Linked DNA regions of Homo sapiens: region 1 is linked to region 2. The links are contacts of gene promoters, found by promoter capture Hi-C in blood cells and fetal thymus (Javierre and others, 2016). All regions are on one chromosome and are shown on one strand. The core of a region is centred on a gene start or on the middle of the fragment in contact, and the rest is flanking DNA. Distances in the headings are between cores, read along the strand shown. Region 1 overlaps ERICH2 (glutamate rich 2). Region 2 holds the start of MYO3B (myosin IIIB).

Region 1 (3,905 bases), core at 759-3,258, 620 kb after region 2:
CACACATTCTGTTGTCCATTTTCATTTTCAGTCCTAATCTATGAACCAGAAAATCCTGAGGCCAAGGAGTTTTTCACACTTATTGAAGAAATGTTGCTGATGGGTAATTTTAAAAATTGAAATTCCTTGTTTCTCATAGAACTATAAGCAGTCACTTTAAAAACCCATTATCCCGGGAGATTGTCGATACATCTTTAGGAAGTGGTTAAGAAAAGGCTAAATGGCTGTCTTAAATGGTTTAGTGAAACAGCTTGTCCTCTGTGGATGGTCACAATGACCCCCTTCTCTCTGTGGGATAGAACTGCCCGAGCAGAGCAGGCTCCCTGGGCACCAGGCATCAGGTATTGACAAGCAGAATATGCTAACACGGCTGCGTGTTAAAGGAATTACCCACAATTCCAAGGGAAGCCACACCCTCTCAATTACCTTGTCTCAATTCCTTTCAATGGACAATTTTACTATTGTCAATAAAATTCTATGATAGAAAGAATTCTATGAAATCGTTAAATAGAATTTCATTGACAATAGTAAAATTATTTTTATAGACTTATGTTTTAAATTATCAAAAACACCTGTATGCCAGTAAAAATACATTTCTTCTTTGTACTACCATTTGACCCTAGTGCAGTTAGCCAAGTCCAACTCAGTTCTTATGTTACAAATATATGTATTTCTTGGTAGAGGGAGGGGCAAGGAGAATTATTTTTCAGAGTGAAATATTAAGAAACACCTTAAGCAATCCTCTTCCTTTCTGTGGCAGAGAAAACTCAGAATCATGAGCAAGACGGTGAAAACAGTGATGAAGACAGCAGTGGTGAGAGTAAAGGAGAAAGCGATGAGGAGCTGAGTGACGAGAGCTCTGACGAAGGTGAAGATGGATCATGAGTGTTGCTGCAATACTTGAAGCTTCATGTATTTTCATTAATGTATACCATGCAAATATAAAGACAAGTGACATTTTAGTCTAATTCTTCCTTATTTGGTACAGTTTCTTTTAAGTTATCTATATTCTTGGCTTAAGACTCTTCCTAATATTTAGGCCTTAGCTCAATATATGAGTTACTCAGAGAGGAAAATAGTTGAAAACACTTACATAGGACTGTGTGCCAGGTACTGTTCAAACTGCTCTACACACATTGTATAATTCAACAACCCCATTAAGTACTATTATTATGCCATTCTACAGATGAGAAAACTGAGGCACAGACAGGGTGAATAATTTGTCCAGTATCATACACCTATTTGTTTGTAGAGCCTGGATTTGTGCATGGACATTATTGCCCCAGAATTCATATGTTTAGTTCCCTATAAATTACCACCATTTCAGGCACTTTTATATCATTCATCATTTGTTTGTTTGTCTAGATAATGGGATCTTGCCACATCAACCAGGCTGGTCTCAAACTCCTGGCCTCAAGTGATCCCCCCATCTTGGCCTCCCAAAGTTCTGGGATTACAGGCGTGAGCCACTGTGCCCAGCCCATTCATTGTATGTTCTTTACAGCATGTATCAGTGTCTGAAATGCTTGTTTAATTGTTCATTTCATCTTCTCCCTACCTGCCAGAGAATGTAACACCCATGAAGCAGAACTTTATCATTTTCCTCATAATATCCCAGCAACTGGACAAGTACCTGGCAAATAATAGAACACATATACCAAATTAATGAACAAATGAAGTGAAAGTTAGTGGAAATATTTATATTCTTTCATAAAACATTTACAAGACTTATACTTCTTACGTACCCATCTATTTTATTGTGCTGATTCTGTAGTTCTTGCTGGATTTCTGCCACTTTCAAATTAGGTTGTAAGGTAACTGTCTTAGTCTGTTTTTTGTTACTATAAGAAAATACCTGAGGCTCGGTAATTTATAAAGAAAAGAGGTTTATTTAGCTTACGGTTCTGCAGGCTGGGAAGTTGAAGATTGGGCAGTTGAATCTGGTGAGGGACTCATGCTGTTTCCACTCATGGCAGAAAGTAGAAGGGGAACAGGCATGTGCAAAGAGATCACACAGCAAGAGAGGAAGCAAGAGAAACCAAGGAAGCCAGACTCTTTTAAAAACCCACTCTCATGGGAACTAATCCATTCCTATGAGAGCAAGACCTCACTCACCCCCGGCCCCCAAATTAATCTACTCATGAGGGATTCAACTCACCCGCCTGACCCAAACACCTCCCACCTCCCAACTCCACGACATACTGGGGATCAAATTTCAGCATGAATTTTGTTTTGTTTTGTTTTTATGTTGTTGTTGAGACAGGGTCTTGCTCCATCACCCAGGCTGGAGTGTAGTGGTGTGATCATGGCTCACTGCAACTTTGAACTCCTGGGCTCAAGTGATCCTTCTGCCTCAGACTCCTGAGTAGCTAGGAATACAGTCACGTGCCACCACATCTAGCTAATATTTTTTAAAACAATTTTTGTAGAGACAGGATCTTGCTGTGTTGCCCACAGTGGTCTCAAATTTCTGGCCCCAAGTGATTCTTCCACCTCAGCTTCCCCAAATCCTGAGATTATAGGTGTGAGCCACTGCACCCAGCCCAGCATGAGTTTTGAAGGGGGCAAACCACATATAGACCAAAGCAGTAACTGAGGTAAAAGAAAAATATTCCTAAGTAATTTGTTTACAAATGTGCCAATCCGATTTGAGGGGAAGCATTTTGAATTTTTATCTTATGTCAGTACAGTGTCACAACATATCCAAAATGTTTGCGGCATTGCTTATTCTTTAGGCATTGTGGCCTGTTAACATTCAGAGGAAGAAAATCTGCAGCACCAATTCATAGGGATGACCAAAAGAAATGAAGATGGATATGTGTAATCCTCTAGTTACCCTTTCTAAATCTGCAGTAAACTCTCAGGGCTTCATGCATAAATAACCAAATAGCATCAGAGGTTTGACTGACAGATCTCAGGAATTACCTGTTCTTTTCATTTTCTTTTGGGTTTAATATTCATTCCACCATGGGAAAACCACCATATCTCAATCTAATGATGCTTACCTGATTAAGGAGAACCCTCCATAAGAAGTTCATAGTATACCCTAAAGCTGACATTGAAGACTAAATAAGTTACAATGAGATTTTAGTTGTCTTTTAAAGGAACAGGGAAGCTTTGAGGAAGAAACTGTCCGAATAAAAAGCCATGATATCACAGGCTATGTTATAGCTAAATCTAAGAATTTATGAGGCTTGTTCATTCAGGATCATCAGTACCCCCTGTCCATACTCTTCATCCTACTAGCCCTCACTAATGAATGAAATGGTAAGGTGTTGGCATGACCTGACAATAGGCACGTGTGTATAATAGGTATGTAGTAATAATAGCTTAAAAAATCTGCAAATTATTGTTTACATTATTTAACCTACTTGCTTCTCACAGTCATCTGAAGAGCATGCTATTATCCCCATCAATTACACAAACTGAATTTGACATAATTGAGGAATCTAAGGTTAAATATTGGCTGGGATGTTGGAATTCAGATGAGGAAACTGAAACTTAGAGATGCTTGGTTATGTCCCAGTATGAGAGATTTTGTGAACCTTAAACCCAATGTTCTTTGTTACCTCACACAGAGCTAGCATCTAGGAACTATTTAATAAGTCTGCCAATGAGTTATATCTGTGTAGACAGTTCAGTTCCAGACCTGTGCCTTCTTCAATAACTTTACAACACATTGTAATGATGTTAATGAACCCAAATATCCAACAATATGAGAATATGTAAGAATGCCTACTCAATAGACTTCAGAGGGGAACCCACTGAAAAAGTTTCATGTATTCAATAAGGTTTGTTTGTTTGTTTTTGTTTGTTTGTTTTGAGACGGAGTTTCACTCTTGTTGCCCAGGCTGGAGTGCAATGGTGCGATCTTGGCTCACTGCAACCTCCACCTCCCGAGTTCA
Region 2 (4,121 bases), core at 1-2,500:
ATGTGCAAATACTGTAGGAAATATAGGAAGATAGAACACATTATCCCCATTCTTAAGATTCTTATGACAGTAAATGGAAACACAAAGGCCATTATTGACTAGCGGGAGTAAGATCGCTGTCCTTTAAATCACCTTCTTCATATTTGCATTCTCTGTGTGCTGTTTCTTGGCTCTGGGTTTCTCTCCTGCCTCATCTACACTAATCCTTTTCACTTCTTCATTCAAAACTGTACCTAGATTTATCTGCTCCAGGAAGCATTCCCACTCAAGTCTTGGTCCTGGGTTGAACTGACTCCTCCTCAGAATTGATGGATATAGCTTATCCAGTGTTATTGCACAGTCTTCAACTATTTCACATGGGCCTATGTGTCATGTTAGCTGGCCAGAAAAGAAGCTTTCTGGGGACCCTACCCTCCTGTTTCTCACTTCCCCTCTCTCCCTTTTTTTTTTTTTTTTTTTTTTTTGAGATGGAGTCTTACTTTGTTGCCCAGCCTGGAGTGCAGTGGCAGAATCTCTACTCACTGCAACCTCCGTTTCCCAGGTTCAAACAATTCTCCTGCCTCAGCATCCCTGGTAGCTGGGATTACAGGCGCACACCACCATACCCTGCTAATTTTTGTATTTTTAGTAGAGATGGGGTTTCCCCATGTTGGCCAGGCTGGTCTCGAACTCCTGACCTCAGGTGATCCACGAGCCTTGGCCTCCCAAAGTACTGGGATTACAGGCGTGATCCACCATGCCCAGCACCACCCCCCCACCCCCTGCCTCCTCTTAACCTACTGTTCTGTATATAGCCCAGGGCATGCTACTGAATGAATAGTCACTGTTGAATAGTCACTGTTTCATTGCTTGGTAATTCAGATCAGAAACTCATGGTGTTTCCCCTGGGTTTATCTGCAGTTCAGAAAAGTGACCCTGACTACATGCTTTGATTATGCCCTTTGCTCACAAAAAGATGATTAGTTTTGATTGTGCAGCATTTGGAATGAAGGAATTTAATCTGGAATGAAGGAACTTTAAAAGGTTGGGGGAATATCACATTGGAACTGTTAAATGACATGCAAACAGGATCTGTGAGAATGGTTTTGATTCTGCTCTGTGTCCTGGTAGGAGACACTAAATAGATCAGGCTCACTACCAATTAGCATCATCTTAATCTTGCCTAATAGTGAAGCAAAGTCACCAAGGATTTGGTGGATTTATCAGCTCCTCCCACAATAGTCATCTGAGGCTAACACCTCTTGGAACCTAGATCGAAAGTCCTTTGGTAATGATGTGTCATACATTCTAGTCATCAAAGACACCATTTTCTGGGCCTGAAGTGTTCTGCTGGTTTTTGGAGGAATGAGAATCCAATCTCTCATAAGCCGGATTCAGAAAATAGGTCATCGATGTGAGTTGCAGTTATTTTCCTTCCAGCTTTCTTCTGTGCTTGCTTTAGATTGTTTTTCTGCAAAGGGCAGATGCAGCTGCCCTGGCTGGTGGGCAGTGGAGGGGGATGACAGCCACTCTGGCTTTGGGCCTCTGTCTGACATCACCCAGATTCCTGGGTCCTCTCAGTTAGCATTTGCCTTTTGTCTGGGTGGTTAAATTTCTCTTGAAGGAGTAGGATAAACACCCTCTTGAGTATTGCTTTTTACACAGACACACACCACACACACACACACACACACACACACATACACACAGCATAGTTCATAGTCACTTGATTTGCCACCTGCAGTTTATAATAGAATGGACCTGTGGGATTATAAACCACTTTATTTCTGCACAGAATTTCTCAGCTTGAGGCCAAATTGAAGGGCATTAGTCATCAGTAATTTGCAGATGTTTTTAATGTTTTTCACCCAAGAGAGGTTTCAGGCAGCTAAAGCTAAGATAAATTTCCTCATGCTTTGGTGGGGAAATGAAAAATCTGATCATTTAGTTAATCATTTGTAAGAGCTGTGGGTATGTATTGTTCCTTAGTGACTGCAATATCATGACAGATTTGTTAATTTGGTAACATGACAATGTAAACAATAGTAGATAAATTCCATTATGCCATGATTCTTTTCTTCCTCTCAGTAATTTTGTATATTCAAGGTTTAAAATCCATAGAACATTAGAGATGGAACTTAGAGATCAACCTAGAGATCATTGGATTCCTCTACCAAGCTCTGTCAAATGCCAGTCCTGAGTGTCTCCCCTGGAGCATCAGGATAAATAGCTAATGCATGGGGGGCTTAATAGGTGCAGCCAACCCACCATAGCACATGTTTATCTGTGTAACAAACCTGCACGTCCTGCACATGTAACCTGGAACTTAAAATAAAATAAAATTTAAAGAAAGGAAAAGAGTACATAATCAGTGGAACCATAAAGGTCAGTTCTAGTGGGAAAATTAGGAAAGGCCTCCTAGAAGAGAAGACATTTGAGCTATACTTGAACAGGCCCTATCTAGCAGCATCCAGATAGGTGGTTTGTGAAGAAGCCAGTTCCTACTCTTACGTCTTTACCATGGTTATGGTTTGAATGTCCCCTCCAAAGATCATGTTGAAATTTAATTGCCATTGTGAGAAGAAATGGGACCTTTAAGAGGTGACTAGGTCATGAGGGCTCTGCCCTTATGAATGGATTAATGCTGTTATTGTGGGAGACGGCTCCTAGTAAAAGGATAGGTTCAGTCTCCTTTTTCTCTCTCTTGAGCTCTCACTCTCTTGCCCTGTCTCACTATGTGAGACCTTCCACCATGTTATGATGCAGCAAGAAGGCCCTCACCAGATGTGGCCCCTTGATCTTGGACTTCCCAGCCTCCAGAACCATGAGCCAAATAAACTTCTATTGTTTATAAATGATGCAGTCTGTGGTATTCTGTTACAGCAGCAGAAAATGGACTAACACAACTATTATGCACTTGCTTATGTATTGGTTTGGAATTATTCTCTAATTTACTCACGCTTGTATGGTATGTGTTTCCTTATTCTGTGTATCTCTGGGTGTTATATTTAATATTTGTACAGATTTCCTCTGACATTTCACAGTTCAGGTTTCCGATTTCTTCTTTCTAAAATCTATTCTCTAGATTTGAAAGCATTCTATGATTTGTGATTCATATATACCATACTATAACATCTAGAAAAAATATTCTGAATAGCATACTGAGCAATGGAAATCTTCATCATGAATTTTCTAATGAGTATAAAATGTTGCTGGGCAAGTTTCTATTTAAATCATGCTCGCTAGGCTTGACTAACTGCAGACATTCACAGGGTGCATGCTGCAGAGTGCTTTACTTTCAACAAGGTAAGGCTGTACCTCCGTTAGGGACTAATTCAGGGTATTCAACAAGGGATCAGACTAGACCAATTTGGGGTTGTTAAGGAACTAAAACTAGCTCACGAGAAACTCAAATCAGCTCATGAAAAGAGGGGCTGCTTGGAAGAATGCAGTAGGAAATTTCATGGGTTACAAGGACAGACAGCAAAGCTTAGCAGGCCTCAGAGGGCCAAGATGTAGAATTCACAGTGAACCCACTCACTAATCCTCTTTGTCTCACTCTCTCAAGCATGGTCCTTTCAGTTTCTTATTTCTCTGTTTTCTTTTTCTTCTCAGGATGAGCCTCTGTTTCATATGGTTTCTGCTATCCTCTGACTTCAGCACACATTTGGGTCATAATAGTCTCCTCTGTAGAGATCTCTTATATGTTTTTTTAAAAAATATTTATTTTAAAAAGTAGAATAACATATGCACTAGCAAAAAACATGACTAAAAATGTGTAATAATTTTAAAAAGCATATAAATTTCTCTCTTTTCCAAACTCTCTGATTTTTACCACCTCTCCCTAAAGTTTAAGAGTTTCCTGTGTAGCCTTCTGGAAAAATGTATATAAGGATATACACATACATAGAGACATACACACAAATATACACATAAAATGACTAGAAATGCAAATATTCTTTGTATTTACACAAAAATTGTCCTCTCTATACACTATTCAACACTTTTAAAACAAATCTTAATTGTATATTTGGCATTCTTTCCATATTAATTGGCAGAAAATTTACCTTTTTTCTTTTTGGTGGTTACCTGTGGCTACATTGTATTTAATTTTATGTAACTATTATGATTTATTAGATAAT

The links. The method cuts DNA at HindIII sites, captures the fragments that hold promoters and counts their contacts. A CHiCAGO score of 5 or more calls a contact.
Region 1: a fragment that was not itself captured here is called in contact with the fragment with the promoter of MYO3B in region 2 in 1 of 17 cell types (erythroblasts); the score reaches 6.0 in erythroblasts.

Annotation. Positions count from the first base shown.
Region 1 is chr2:170,798,010-170,801,914 of GRCh38, forward strand. It overlaps ERICH2 (glutamate rich 2), which reads left to right. Exons shown (of 10, transcript NM_001290030.2): 9 at 32-103; 10 at 761-968. The coding sequence ends at 885. Among named protein-coding and RNA genes, the nearest start is that of GAD1, 17 kb to the right of the region's middle. The HindIII fragment of the contact is 2,209 bases long and covers 905-3,113 here.
Region 2 is chr2:170,176,897-170,181,017 of GRCh38, forward strand. MYO3B (myosin IIIB) reads left to right here and starts at 1,251. Exons shown (of 35, transcript NM_138995.5): 1 at 1,251-1,393. The coding sequence starts at 1,392. RefSeq lists an enhancer at 3,433-3,662. The HindIII fragment of the contact is 3,074 bases long and covers 393-3,466 here.